Regions from separate parts of the Homo sapiens genome. Here regions 1, 2 and 3 are each linked to region 4. Evidence: promoter capture Hi-C in 16 types of primary human blood cells and fetal thymus (Javierre and others, 2016). All regions are on one chromosome and are shown on one strand. Each heading gives the region's core, a stretch centred on a gene start or on the middle of the fragment in contact. The rest is flanking DNA. Distances are from core to core; before and after follow the strand shown. Region 1 overlaps SCEL (sciellin). Region 2 has its middle 63 kb from the start of SCEL. Region 3 has its middle 22 kb from the start of SCEL. Region 4 holds the start of MYCBP2-AS2 (MYCBP2 antisense RNA 2).

Evidence for each region. Contacts are between HindIII fragments. The CHiCAGO score rates a contact against its expected background, and 5 or more counts as called.
Region 1: a contact is called between a fragment that was not itself captured here and the fragment with the promoter of MYCBP2-AS2 in region 4, in 1 of 17 cell types (M2 macrophages). The highest score is 7.1, in M2 macrophages.
Region 2: a fragment that was not itself captured here is called in contact with the fragment with the promoter of MYCBP2-AS2 in region 4 in 2 of 17 cell types (naive B cells and total CD4 T cells); the score reaches 5.3 in naive B cells.
Region 3: a contact is called between a fragment that was not itself captured here and the fragment with the promoter of MYCBP2-AS2 in region 4, in 1 of 17 cell types (M2 macrophages). The highest score is 6.4, in M2 macrophages.

Annotation. Positions count from the first base shown.
Region 1 is chr13:77,560,980-77,564,487 of GRCh38, reverse strand. SCEL (sciellin) reads right to left here. Exons shown (of 33, transcript NM_144777.3): 5 at 589-657. Among named protein-coding and RNA genes, the nearest start is that of SCEL, 27 kb to the right of the region's middle. The HindIII fragment of the contact is 5,677 bases long and covers 1-3,508 here.
Region 2 is chr13:77,471,204-77,474,651 of GRCh38, reverse strand. No RefSeq gene overlaps it. Among named protein-coding and RNA genes, the nearest start is that of SCEL, 63 kb to the left of the region's middle. The HindIII fragment of the contact is 866 bases long and covers 971-1,836 here.
Region 3 is chr13:77,512,200-77,515,414 of GRCh38, reverse strand. No RefSeq gene overlaps it. Among named protein-coding and RNA genes, the nearest start is that of SCEL, 22 kb to the left of the region's middle. The HindIII fragment of the contact is 2,513 bases long and covers 575-3,087 here.
Region 4 is chr13:77,079,138-77,082,670 of GRCh38, reverse strand. It overlaps MYCBP2-AS2 (MYCBP2 antisense RNA 2), which reads left to right and starts at 1,481. Exons shown (of 2, transcript NR_170173.1): 1 at 1,481-1,757; 2 at 2,010-2,160. MYCBP2 (MYC binding protein 2) reads left to right here. Exons shown (of 83, transcript NM_015057.5): 64 at 678-834; 65 at 1,020-1,244. The region is part of intron 2 of MYCBP2-AS1 (MYCBP2 antisense RNA 1); the gene reads right to left. The HindIII fragment of the contact is 5,615 bases long and covers 1,333-3,533 here.

The DNA.
Region 1 (3,508 bases), core at 973-3,472, 480 kb before region 4:
CCCTGTAGAGATGAGCCCTTTCCCTCCATGTAAGAAGGAACTAACAGGAGGCACACACGTTGGACTCATTCTATCAGCCCTATGGAGACTCCAGTGTCAAAAGAGTATTTTCACCTTCTAAAGAGAAAGTAAAGAGCTAACGTCTCTGTCCTGGAGTGGATTGAAACTATTGTATTATTAAAATTTACAGTCTCTCCATAAAGCAGTTGCATGGACTAACGTTTTTCCACCATCAGTGTGGAAGAACCAAATGTTGGAACAAGGATTATACATATTCGCAAAAAAAAAAAAAAAAACCTATATTGAACTAACAGATTCTGCACAGTACCCACCCTAGCTGTACTCAAATCAGTGTCTCTAAGAATATTTCATATCAATCTACTATTAAAAAGATTTTGGAAATGCATCTAGCCAAGATTTAGTGAGATCTGAAGAAGATAATTCAATTCTTAGAGCCCTCCATCCCTGGGAATAAAATATCAGTGATTCAAACCTTATTTTGGTAAACTTTTAAATACTTCATAACTTTATTAGAAAATGTATTTAATATGTTATGCATTCCATTTATATGGTTCAAAAGCCCCTTACCTGTCCAAAGTGTCATCAGAACTGTACCGACTAATTGTAGCTTTTGGCACATCTCTCTCATTTACTTTCCTGTAGCAAACATAATTACCAAAAAAAAAAAAATCAAATCAATTACAAAAAAAAAGTTTATAAAACCTATCATACATATGGCAATATTTTGACCTATTTCAGTAGGAAATATACATGTTACCAAGGAAAGATAGATTTCTAATACCCAAATCTTCCAACTTGGATAGAATAAATTATGGAAAATCCAATATCCTATGCTAATAAAAGATTCTTCTCTGGCTTCTATTATTTCTGACAACAATGTAACATATTCAAATTAGGGGTAAGGATACGTAAATCATACAACACAACAAACAACACAACACTCAAAATGTTTAATAACTAATATGTACTCTTGTCAATGTTGTTTATTTCTACATAATAGGAACTCAATCTTTTATACTCAACTATATTTTGTTTGCAGAGTTTTAGCAGTGCCATAAACCAGCACCATGGACTAAATCCATAAATGCTTTGTTTAATATTCAGCACCGTGGACAGGGTTGAAAGAAGGGAACTTACAGGCAGAAGGAGGGGAAAGACAGGAAAGAAAGGAAAGGAAAGGAAGGAAACAGGAAAAGCTGGGGAAAATGAAAAGGAGAAAGTGGGAAGTGAGAGAAAGGAAGGATAGAAGGAAAAGAGGAAGAGAGAAGAGTGATAGGAAGAAGAAGAGGAGAGACAAGGGCAAAGAGAGGAGAGCAAGACAGATGAGCAAAAATGGGGGGGGAATTTAGAAAATAACAGAAAAGAGGATAGAAGACTCAGTAGAAGGAATCGTGATCATGGAAGCAAAGGAAAGATCCTGATCAGATTGATCAAACATTTAAAAAAGCCTGTTTAATGCCTCATATAACCCTATGATATAAAGCAAGCAAGCTCTTTGGAGAATTCCCCATTATTTATTGTGTTTGTATTTCTAAGTATCATTTAAAGCCATCATATCCAAAGTATTGCATTAGAATAAGTACTAAGACTAGATACTAAAGATTTAATTTTAAAGTTGATGTGGCATATTTTCATTAAGCAACTATTTGGATGTACTCAATATAAAAAGGGCTAGGAATAGTGCAAAAAGCATATTTGCTATATTAGTAGTGGAGAAAGTAACATTTGCTATATTAATCAACACTGTTGTACTGAGAAATATAAGGAAGTCTAGAATAAAATAACTATAGCTGCTATCTACACAGAGCAAGACGGATAAATCAGGTATGTACATCCAAAGACAGAAAGTAGTGAGTGCCATAAAAGAGGTTTGGGTAAGGTGTAAGGAAGTTCTAAGCTGAGAAAGCTGATTTCTAGGTATACAAACCAGAGGAGGCTTTATGGAATGAAGTGCAGTTTGAGCTGGGCCTTGGAGGGGAAATAGATGTGAACATTTTCGAATAGAGGTAGAGGGAACAGCATCAGTTAAGGCAAGAAAAAGAGTGAAGAAAAATGCCAAATACAACTCCCCCAATTTTTAATACAACCCCAGAGTGAAATCATGGTGTGGTTCACCATCGTGTGTAAATGTGTAAATGCAAGCAGGTGCCGGAGGGCCATCTGTCCCCTTGCAGAAAACAGCCCCTCCCCAGACACCATCACTATGTCTCTAGGTGGCCGTTGTCTTCCTACTGCTTATCACAATAAGACATGTTTCAACATGTTATTTTCATTCTCTCCCCTCCCTCACTTTCAACTAGGATGCAAGTTCTGTGGAAGCAGGGACTTTGTTTTGTTTGCAGCTCTTAACACAGCTACTGATGCACAGGAGGCCTCCTACAGGTGCTATTTGGCTGTCATCCTTATTTGACATGTTTAAATGATCTACCAGAACATGTACATGGTCAAACTTTCCAATTGTGGATAATATGAAGGTATTATCTAAGGTGATGACAGTGTATTATTTATTTTCCTTTATTTTCAGACCCCACTCATGCCAGCTCTCTGCACACATTGTCATCTCTGCTGGAAGTGCTTCTTTCCTTGCTCCATGCCCACCAGCCAGCCTTGCCCATTTGGGAAATTTTTCCTCATAATCCTTCAAGCATCATCGCCAACACCAAAGACCACCTCCTTGGTGAGATCTCTGATTATTTAGGCAGAGTTAGTCTCCCCTCTTTTCTATTCCCATAGTGCACTCACACACCTCTACTATAGCACTTTCCGTGATAAACTTTAGTATTTTCATTTGTGGATATTTTCAGGTCAAAGATTATGTTCTATGCATCTTTGTATTCCTGGCACCTTGCACAATGCTGGCACATAGCAGGTGCTCCAAAGTGGCTGTTCAGTGGGCATCAAGGTAAAGACATCCTCTGCAGAGCAGAAAAATGACAAGTGATACCCTCTGAGCAAGTACCAGGAGAAAAATAATCTGCCCTACTCTTTTAGGGAGATTGATTCTGTGATGTTAGTTATAGGTCAAGAGGGAAATGTCTAGGGCTTACAGATTTTTGTTCCTTAAAAGACTGATATTATACTTTAGCCACAATGTTGGCCACCATGAGGAAGGGTTCAGGAAACGAATACAATTTAAAATATGAAATAAGCATGAAAGGCATTAAGCTCTTGTTAACCTAAAACACATTGTATGTACATTAAGAATATGAAGCGTATTTCACACTTAAAAAACACAAGCATTTCTGTTCTTAAATGTTCCAGAGAAAGGTGAGTAACATAGAGGTGGCTGGACTCAAATGGTGAGCCTCTCCTTTGTTGGTGGAATCAGAGCCAGCTGAGAACCAGGCTGTGATCTTCAAAACCATAAAGACTAAGGACAGGGCCTCGGCAGAGAGTCTGCCAGATCACAGAACAGTAAATCAGATGAACTAAAGCTGGCATCAGGAAAATGAAATGGCAACTCTGTGTAGAAGGTTATAAGCTCAGC
Region 2 (3,448 bases), core at 154-2,653, 390 kb before region 4:
TCCTGAGCCAGTGAGACCAGGAACCCACCAAAAGGAAGAAACTCTGAACACATCTGAACATCAGAAGGAACAAACTCTGGATACGCCACCTTTAAGAACTGTAACACTCACCCCAAGGGTCCACGGCTTCATTCTTGAAGTCAGTGAGACCAAGAACCCACCAATTCCGGACACACCAGCACTTTGGGAGGCTGAGGCGGGTGGATCATGAGGTCAGGAGTTCGAGACCATCCTGGCTAACATGGTGAAACGCCAACTTTACTAAAAATACAAAAAATTAACTGGGCGTGGTGGCACACGCCTGTAGTCCCAGCTATGCAGGAGACTGAGGCAAGGGAATCGCTTGAACCCGGGAAGTGGAAGTTGCAGTGAGCCGAGATCGCGCTGCTGCACTCCAGCCCCGGCGATAGAGGGAGACTCCGTCTCAAAAAAAAAAAAAAAAAAAAAACTTAGTTGCTCCTTTTGCCTTATGCCTCTCAGTGGAATTCTTTCTTCTAAGGAGGCAAGAATTGAAGTTGTTACCGACTCATGGATTCACTGCAGGTCATAGGCATGCCTCACACATTTTTCAATTGACCAGGACTATCTTGCTCAACAGTAACTGAATAAAAGTGGACTGAATGAATGAGATTGCAATGCGGAAGGTAAGCAACAGATGGGGGTCACCCAACACTCTTACCTGAGCACCTTGATTATAATACACTCCAATCCATGATCCAGAGGCAAAACCCAGGGCTTCCACTCATTCATAGTGTCTGTGCTGACACAACCTACCCCTGCCTGATGTGCCAGCTGTTCAGCCTCTTTGCCAATGACAGTCAGCCTTGAGGTTCTTGAACACCACTGGACAATGTTAACTGATATTCCTCAACAAGGCATCTCTCACATTGAAGATGCTATATACAAAAGGAAGGAAGTGGGGGAAGGAAGGACGGACGGACAGACGGACTAGGTGGAAAAACATTAAGCTTAGTTTCTTGAATATAGGCAGACTGCTAATGCAGGCCATTTGTCGTTCCATTCTGAGCCCTTTCTGTCTCTCCATCTTCACCCTCAATAATGCCATTTGAATTGTCCATGCAGCTCCCATGATGATAATTTTGTAAAGTTGGTTGTTTTAGGAAGAAGTTGATTTCTTTGATCTCTTGTCTGGTTTGTAGCTATGTTCCTACTTATTCTTTCCAGGCTCTGCCGTTCTTCGGAAACTCCTCCATGTTACAGTGTTTGTGAAACTGCTTGCACTTTGATTATTTTTAATGTGCATTTCACCAGAAACCCATAGTACTCCTGTACTGGGAGTGAATCCTGCCTGCAGTGAGTGCTGATGAATGGAGGGATGAGCTAATATAACTAAAAGAAAAGGAAAACAATTAAACTCAATGCCAAAACGAACAATGAAATGCAATTCTGCTTGTTTATTTCTTCACAGTTGGGGCAAAAAAAAACCCTCAAAATTTAATGCAATCAATTACTACAAAATAACACCAAAATGGTTACAAAAATAAGTATGATGGTGCTGTCTTTAGTGTGTTTTTTCCTTTGTTCTTTTCTTCTTTCCTTCTTTTCCTTCTTCCTTTATTGCTTCCTCCTTTCTCCTTCATTTCTGCATTTGTTTTTTCGTGATTATACATGTAAGCGTATAAAATAAAGCAGCTTTTCTTCTTTTGAAAGATGAAAAGAGAAATAGGAAGGGGTCAAACATCCTGCAAAAATGGCAAAAATGTAACTGAACTGTCTTCAATATATGCTGTAATACCATAAATTCCTTTGTCATGGAAAACATTTAACATATTGGCAGACATAATTCTGGTATATCAACCATGTATATTTTAAGCTTTAATATACTTTTATATATTCAACTTCATTTCCATAACTCAATATATCAAAATGTAATGGTTTCCCAACTGTAAGAATCGCTGAGGACTTTCTATATACTCTTTAAGGCTACCATGTTTTTTCTTAACATTTTAGCAATCATTTGATTACTAAAAACAGATATTCATCCACGACATCTGTGCCAGCAACCAGTTAGTGGTTCACCAAACCACTTTGCCTTTCTTCCAAGTATACTGGTGGGCAATATATCATAGTTGTCTTTCCAGTTGGATGTGGCCTGTGACTGGGTATTGGTCAATGGAACCTAAATAGAAGTGATGGGTCCAACCTCCAGGCCTGGTCTATGACGTCCTCCTGCCCACAATTCTTTCTCTCTTATTTCCCTTTGCACCCAATGAATGGAGAAGTCTAAGGATCTAGAGGCTGAATTGCTGCCTGGAGGAAAGCTGTCCACTGGTCAGCCAACTAGGCTAGGCCTGCAAAACACGTGACAAATTAAGTTTTATTTTGGAGTTTTAATTCCAATTTTAAACTTTGAAATTTTGAAATTCTATGTGATAGTAGTTGGTCTGTCCCAGCTAATACACCAGTCTGAGAAAACCAATGTTATTCTGAAGCTCTTCATGATTCAAGCTGGAAGGGAAAAACCAAGTGGCTGAGAATTTGTGTGAATGTAGAAACCTGCTGGTTTCTCCTCATCACTCGTCCACGAAATGCCAGACTAAAGAGAGATAGCTGTGGCGGAGATACTGTGAATATTCAATTTGAAACACATTCAGTGAGCACAAACTCTGTGCCAGAAACCAACATGGAGAGTGTTCCTCTAGTCAGTCACTACTGAGGGTGATCAACTGCTCTTAACAAACGAGTAGAGACCCAGAAAAAAATACAACTTAATAAGACAACTAACTAAAGGGCTGAGTAGGAAGAAACAACCCAGGTATAAAGGAATGGGGGAGAAAGAGGCAGGGACATGAGAAGAAGGAGAAGGAGGTATAGAATGCAGGTAGGTAGCAAGGCTTGGAGAGATTCTTTAAGGCAATCTGGAGGTTTTGCAAGGGACCTTCAGGTCCTGCCCAGGAACAAAGAGGAAATAGTAGAAAGCACCAATCTTGGATCCAGCAGCATTTAATCATTAATTATCTAATCATTTAAGTATTTCATTCCCTCAGCCTCAGATCTCTCTTAAAAGAGCTAGGTTATTCCTGGTTTTGCATAGACAGTTTGCATTATAGTCTCCTAAACTGGAAACAAGCTAAAAGACTGGTCAGGGAAGTAGTTTCCCATTCTTTCCCAGGCGATGCTCCATAGTTATGCCACAAGTTACTACCTGAGTGTCTGATCAAAGTCTTAAGGGGTTTGTCACCGTTATAACTAAGCAATAGCAACCTCTGAGTCCCTTTTTTTTTTTTTTTTTTTGTCATAGTTAAGCACAGACCATCATGCAGTACCTTGGATTTCTATACAGTACTCTTGGTATGATATGAAAAAAAAATTCTGCCCTAAATTTTGTTATTCTCTGGATTTGGCTGCCACTGAGCCAGGTTGAGCAATCTATTTCTCTGAAGGAAACACCCATTATTCTGGGAAAATTTAGGCACATTCCTTCCTA
Region 3 (3,215 bases), core at 582-3,081, 430 kb before region 4:
TAGTCACACTGCCCTAAAAATCTCCTGTGCTTCACCTTCTAATCTCTCTCTCCTCTTCCCCTTAACACCTGGCAACTACTGATCCTTTCATTGCCTCTATAGTTTTGCCTCTCCCAAAATGTCATGTTTGGAATCATACAGTATATAGCCTTTTCAGACTGGCTTCTTTCACTTAGCAATATGCATTTAAGGTCCAATGGTGCAACGTTCCATTTTTACTTAGTGAGTGGTGAAAAAAAGTATAAAGTTAGCAAATTTTAAAAGAAATACTCTTGGTATACACACAAGTCATTTAGGATTTGCACTTTTCAATATGAATGTGTCAAATACAAGAAACAATGAATTTTGGAGTAAAGACTATTCCCATTCTCATGCTAAATGTATAGTCTTGGCCAACAGTAGATGGAAGTCCCATGCTGGTGATTTCGAAACTTGTTCTTTCATTAAAATAATATTTATGGAGTATGCAAGGAGTGGGAATGGAGAACTGCAAATAAATCCAGAAGTATTTTTAATAGATTTACTTATTGTAGTGGTATGAGTAAAGTGATTCTGAAACAATTTAGATCAAGCTTGTTCAACCTGCAGCCTGGAACAGCTTTGAATGAGGCCCAATGCAAATTTGTAAACTTTCTTAAAAACATCATGAAATTTTTTGGCAAGTTTTTTTAGCTCATCAGCTATCATTAGTGTATTTTATGTGTGGCCCAAGACATTCTTCTTCTTCCAATGTGGCCCAGGGAAGCCAAAACATTGGATGTCCCTGATTTAGATGTATTATAGGATTGCACAATGAGTTAATGCATTTGTGTTGCTGAGAGCGAGAGTTCTCACAGAGGAAGGTAGGTTGTAAACTATACAGTGAGGATGGCAAGAAAGAAGCCCATGGGAGTGGATTGAAACTGAAAGTATAGATCTGAACTCATAATGTCTAAAATATGTTGTATGTGTTTATGTATGTGTATGCCCACCTGTATACACATATACCTCTATGTTTGTGTGTATATATGTCTGTGTCTGTATGCATGTGTATACACACTCACATTTCCTAGCTCTGTCCACTGAAAGGGTCAAGAAGTAAAGATATCCCATGTGACAATTAATATTAGGTGTCAACTTGATTGGATTGAAGGATGCCCAGATAGCTGGTAAAGTATTGTTTGTGGCTGTATCTGTGAGGGTGTTGCCAGAGGAGACTGATATTTGAGTCAGTGGACTAGGAGAGGAAGACCCACCCTCAATGTGGGTGGGCACCATCCAATCAGCTGCCGGTGTGATTAGAACAAAAGCAGGAGGAAGAAGGTGGGATAACTTTGCTTGCTGAGTTTTCCTGGCTTCCTTCCTCTTCTTGTCTTGGATGCTTGCTTCTGCTCCTTCTGCCCTTGGACACCAGACTCCAGGGTCTTCATCCTTTGGACTCTGGAACTTGCACCAGTGGCTTCCTGGGGGCTCTCAGGCCTTCTGCCACAGACTGAAGGCTGCACTGTCAGCTTCACTGGTTTTGAGGCTTTCGACTCTGATTGAGTCACTACTGGCTTCTCTCTTCCCCATTTTGCAGGTGGCCTATCATGGGACTTCACTTTGTAATTATGTGAGCCAATTATTCCTAATAAACTCCCTTTCATATATACATATATCCTATTTGTTCTGTCCCTCTGGTGGACCCTAATACACACACACCAGTAACCAGAAGCACATCTAATGCCTAGAATTTGGCCTCTATCACTATTCTCCACTAAAAAGAATCAAGGCTCCACTCCATGTAAACATGCTGAACTGCTAAAATACCTTAAAATTAATATTAAAATAATCTGTGCAAAGATTTGCACTATCAATTATGCTGGGAATTCAAAGATACAATGTGGTATTCACTAATTACCCACAGTGAGATAGATTCTAGAGCCAGATGATGCAAGATGAGTCTGGAACATACTATGTCTAAAAGTGCGGAAATGCTTTAAAAAAAGTGTGGGGCTTGCAACAAAGCCAAGGAATCAACTTGAAGAAACCCCTAATGACCAGGTCAGGGACAATTTGAACACCAAAATATTAAGTAATGCATTATAAACCATTGAAAAAATACGAACTAGTGATACCAATAATTAATAAATAAATAGGTGAGGAAAAGGAAGGTCTCTTGCTTAATGTAGAATGCTGAGTGCTGGCTGGTAAATGCGGAGGTGATGCTGAAGCTGGAAAATCACCATTTTGCAACATCATGGTAAAGACTGGATAAAGCAAGAATCATCAATGGATACTAAATCTAGGGGGATATTTTGTTGAAGACCAGAAACTTGCCATGAACTTAAACAGTGTTACCACAAATTGCTAATTCGCTTCAACGTTTTTTTCAAAAAGTAATGATACAAAGGAGAAGCTCAGCAATACCTTCACCAGGTGCTTAAAATTAACATCACTGGTGATGAACAGATGGCCTTGGCATGCCTCCCCTGAGAAGGGCACAACATCACCTGTGAAGTATTCGGTTGAAAATGTATAACTTGACTCCCTCATGAAAAACCAGCAGACCAATGAGGAATATTCTATTTAAAAGAGGAGAAGAGTATAGTCTTCAAAAATGTTACTGGCACAAAAGACAAGTAAAGGCTATGAAATATTCTAGATTAAAGGTGATTAAAGATACATGACAAATTAATGTAATGTCTGACCATAGATTAGATCCTCAATTGCAATGGAAAATGCTACAAAGGTCATTGTTGGGGCAATTGCATAAGGGCAATAGCTTGGATAAAATTACTTTATCAAAGTTAAACTTACTGAAGTTGATGAGTGAACTGTGGTTATGAATGAAAATATCTTTTTATCATAATCACTATTATTATCTATTTCATTCATTATTTAAACTACAATAATGTCAGAATAAGGAATGTATTTAATTGCAATGTAAAATTGCAATTGACATGTAAGATCTTTTTTTATCAACAGTGTACTAAGTATTATAACATTTTCCATATTTATGTAAAATTTTCTATTTTTTCACTAGGAAAATAGTGAAACTAGTGAGCAATGCTAATGTGTATGAGGCTCTCCAAGCCAACCCTGATAATTGAGTTTAAATGTTAAGCTTACAATTTTACTAGTGCCCTTAGCTTTCCTCACAAAGAATTAATTGATTTAATTTTAGAATCTGAATGTTCTGTAATTATTCTACATTGCATTAAAGAAGTTTTCCATATTATTGTTTGACAATGTTT
Region 4 (3,533 bases), core at 232-2,731:
TTGGGGAAAACAGAGCCTGGTTGTATGCACCCAGTCCTAAAAGCACCTTAAGGAGCATCACAGATGCTCAACAGATTCCAATTTCAATTTGAAATGTGTTGAGAATTTAGCATTGCTTTTACACTGTGAACCTTGTTACTAGATTCACATACTGGACTCACACTTATAAATAAATTCTCCTAATTAATGTATACAAGAAATAGATTGATGGAATGCTTGGGCTTCCCATGTTACTAATGATAAGACCAGTGGAAGAGAGATTTCTCTTTGTCCTCCTCACAAGATTTTTGAACTACAAGATAAACTATACCCTGATGAATTAGTATGGCATTGTAAGAGTAATAAATTTGAGGGGTTGTTGCAGTTGGTGTACCACTTGTTTACACAATAGATTCATTACCCTTTTTGCTTCTGTAGCCTTGATCTTCATCTGTCTAATTCTTTTATATTTAAAATGGGTCAACTTTCCTTAGAATTTACCTTGTTCCAAAGAAGTTACCTTTATTTCTCAAAAACAAAAACAATAGGAATGATTTTCTTCCCTGAATTTTTAAAATGTCTGTTACTAGAACATTAAAATTTCTTGAGATATTAGCTACAGAGTACTCATCTAAGAGTTCCTTAGATGTTCCTGGAAAATAATTATTTCGTATATTGCTTATATATCGCCTTTTTAGGTGCTGGAGTCTCAAATTCAAGCAATCTGATCACCAGTTCCTTCATCAGAGCAACGTCTTTCATCACATTAACAATATTTTGTCAAAGTCAGATGATGGCGATAGTGAAGAGAGTTTTAGCATCAGTATACAGTCTGGCTTTGAAGCTATGAGTCAGGTCAGTCATTTCAGTTATTATCCTGGTTGTCCTGTTAGTTAATAATACATCAAAGGAGAAACTGTAAGTTATTCATAATCAATTTGATCCTGTCTTCCATTATGTTTTATCTTATACCTGTTTGTTTTATCATCACGAAAGATTTGCTTTTAAGTATCATAAGTACTTATATTTGTTTCTGATAGGAATTATGCATAGTAATGTGCTTAAAGGACTTAACCAGCATTGTTGACATAAAAACTTCAAGCCGACCTGCCATGATTGGCAGTTTGACAGACGGCTCCACAGAAACCTTTTGGGAATCAGGAGATGAAGATAAAAACAAAACTAAGAACATCACCATCAACTGTGTAAAAGGAATCAATGCCCGCTATGTGTCTGTTCACGTGGACAATTCCCGAGATCTTGGGGTAAGAAAGCAAACGTGATTTACGGCTCTTTAGCTCTTTTCAGATCTTAGTATTCATGCACTTTCATTTCTGAATTTAGCAACAAGCTTTATCACCTGGAATTTCACCAACCAAACATCATTGCTATAATCCCCAAATAAATCTTAAGTCTAAAAACAAATTAATATGATTGGGAGCACTGTGGAATTCCATTTCTGAAAAGAGGTCTGATTACAAATATACCATGGCTACAGCTAAGCAAAATGAAAGTCTGCTCTACAATTTTCTGCTGCCATTCCCTTGGTTAAGATTTTCCCGTGACCTGGAAGTCCTCCCCTTAAACTCTGCTGATCAATTCTTCCAGGGTCTCTCAAACTCAGCAGAGAAATTCTAAGTAACTCCTCTAAAAAATTACTCTTTCCCTCTGCTGATTCTTTTTGTATTACTCTGGTGGCACTTAATAATAATCTTTGACCTATAGTGTAATCAGCTTTTTTTTTTTTTTCTGAGATGGAGTCTCCCTCTGTCACCCAGGCTGGAGTGCAGTGGCACAATCTTGGCTCACTGCAACCTTCGCCTCCAGGTTCAAACGATTCTCCTGCTTCAACCTCCTGAGTAGCTGGGATTACAAGCACACGCCACCATGCTTGGCTAATTTTTGTATTTTTAGTAGAGACAGGGTTTCACCATGTTGTCCAGGCCGGTCTCAAACCCCTGGCCTCAAGTGATCTGCCCACCTCAGCCTCCCAAAGTGCTAGGATTACAGACATGAGCCACTGCACCCAGCCTATCTTCAAGTGTCTACTTTGCCACAGTCCTCATGAAATAAAAAATAAGTTTCAGACTGTCCCAAATAATCATAATTTATATTCTCTTCAGCCTAGTTCATCCATGTGTTTCAACTGAATTAAATATTCTTTTATAAAAGGCACTAAACAAGAAAAAAGAGTCCTATTTGCTTGAGTATTAACAACCAAGAAAGAAATAGCACTAACTGCCAGACTGCCTTTCTTCTACCTCATTTAGAATTTTTTTCCTCAGAATGGATGTGGCTTGCTAGCAGATACAGTATTAATGGCTCTCCTTGAACCATTGCCTGGCTTCTCCTGTGCCATTTGCATATTTCCTTTCTCAGGAAGAGCCACAGTGGTAGGATTGGGTCTCAGATAACCTGGATGCAGGCCAGTCTGCAATCAGAGCAACCTCCAACTCCTGTACATCAGTGCAGGTTCTATTCCTCCCTGGTATTGAGTAAGTAAAAGAGGCTTAGCTAATATAATATGAGCTATTTCCTCCTCAGACCTAAGAATTTCCACTGGTGTAACTACTTTATCTTACTGGAAAGTCAAGTGTAACAAAGCAAAACATTTTTGTAGCTAGAACTCACTGTTCAGTGCAAAGCTATCTTTGGCTCATGGTACATTTTAAGCAAGGACATACTCTCCCTCAGAACAATGATTGCAATCAATTTAACACTTCTGTCTTTTCTAAGAGGAAATAATCATAACAGTATTCATTTTCAAAATTCCCAACATGTAAGCTGACATCTACTTTCCTTTTAACAGGCTTCCTCTATGTTATAGGTTGAGCATTCCAAATCTGAAAATCCAAAATGCTACAGAATCTGAAACTTTTTGAACACAGATATGACACTTAAAGGAAATGCATATTGGAGCATTTCTGGTTTTAGATATTCAGATTTGGGGTGCCCAGCCAGTAAGGATAATGCAAATAGAGTATTTCAAAATCCTAAAAAATCCCTAATCCAAAACACTTCTAGTCCCAAATATTTCTAATAAAGGATACTCAACCTGTATGTATGTTTTCCTTGAGTTATGTACCTCCATGTTCCTCAACCTGCCTACCACAGAGCCTTGTACACAGCATTTGTTGATTTGAGTTGTATCAGCCTACAGCACTCATATTATGCAGCTCTCCAAGGAATTAATGTTAATCTATTTCTTGATGTGCTTTGCGTAAAACTTATTCAGCCTTAAGATATTTGACACTAGTTTGAACATGTATTGAACTTGTACTGTTTGACATTTATTTTGTGTATTAATGTTGCCTTCCCTAGTTTGGCAAGTATCTTGGGGGATAGAACCTCCTCTCATATATCCTACTTCAAATCTGTAAGGAAGTCTGGGTACATTGTGACACTCATAAGTATTTGTTAGTTCAGTTACCTTCCCTCTTTATACTTCCAAAAGTAATGAAAATATAGCAACAAGAGTCTGACATAAGTGACAAGCAGATTTGTTGAAAGGCTTCATGAGGAAGGAATCTGAATATTTAGACTTTGAATAAGGA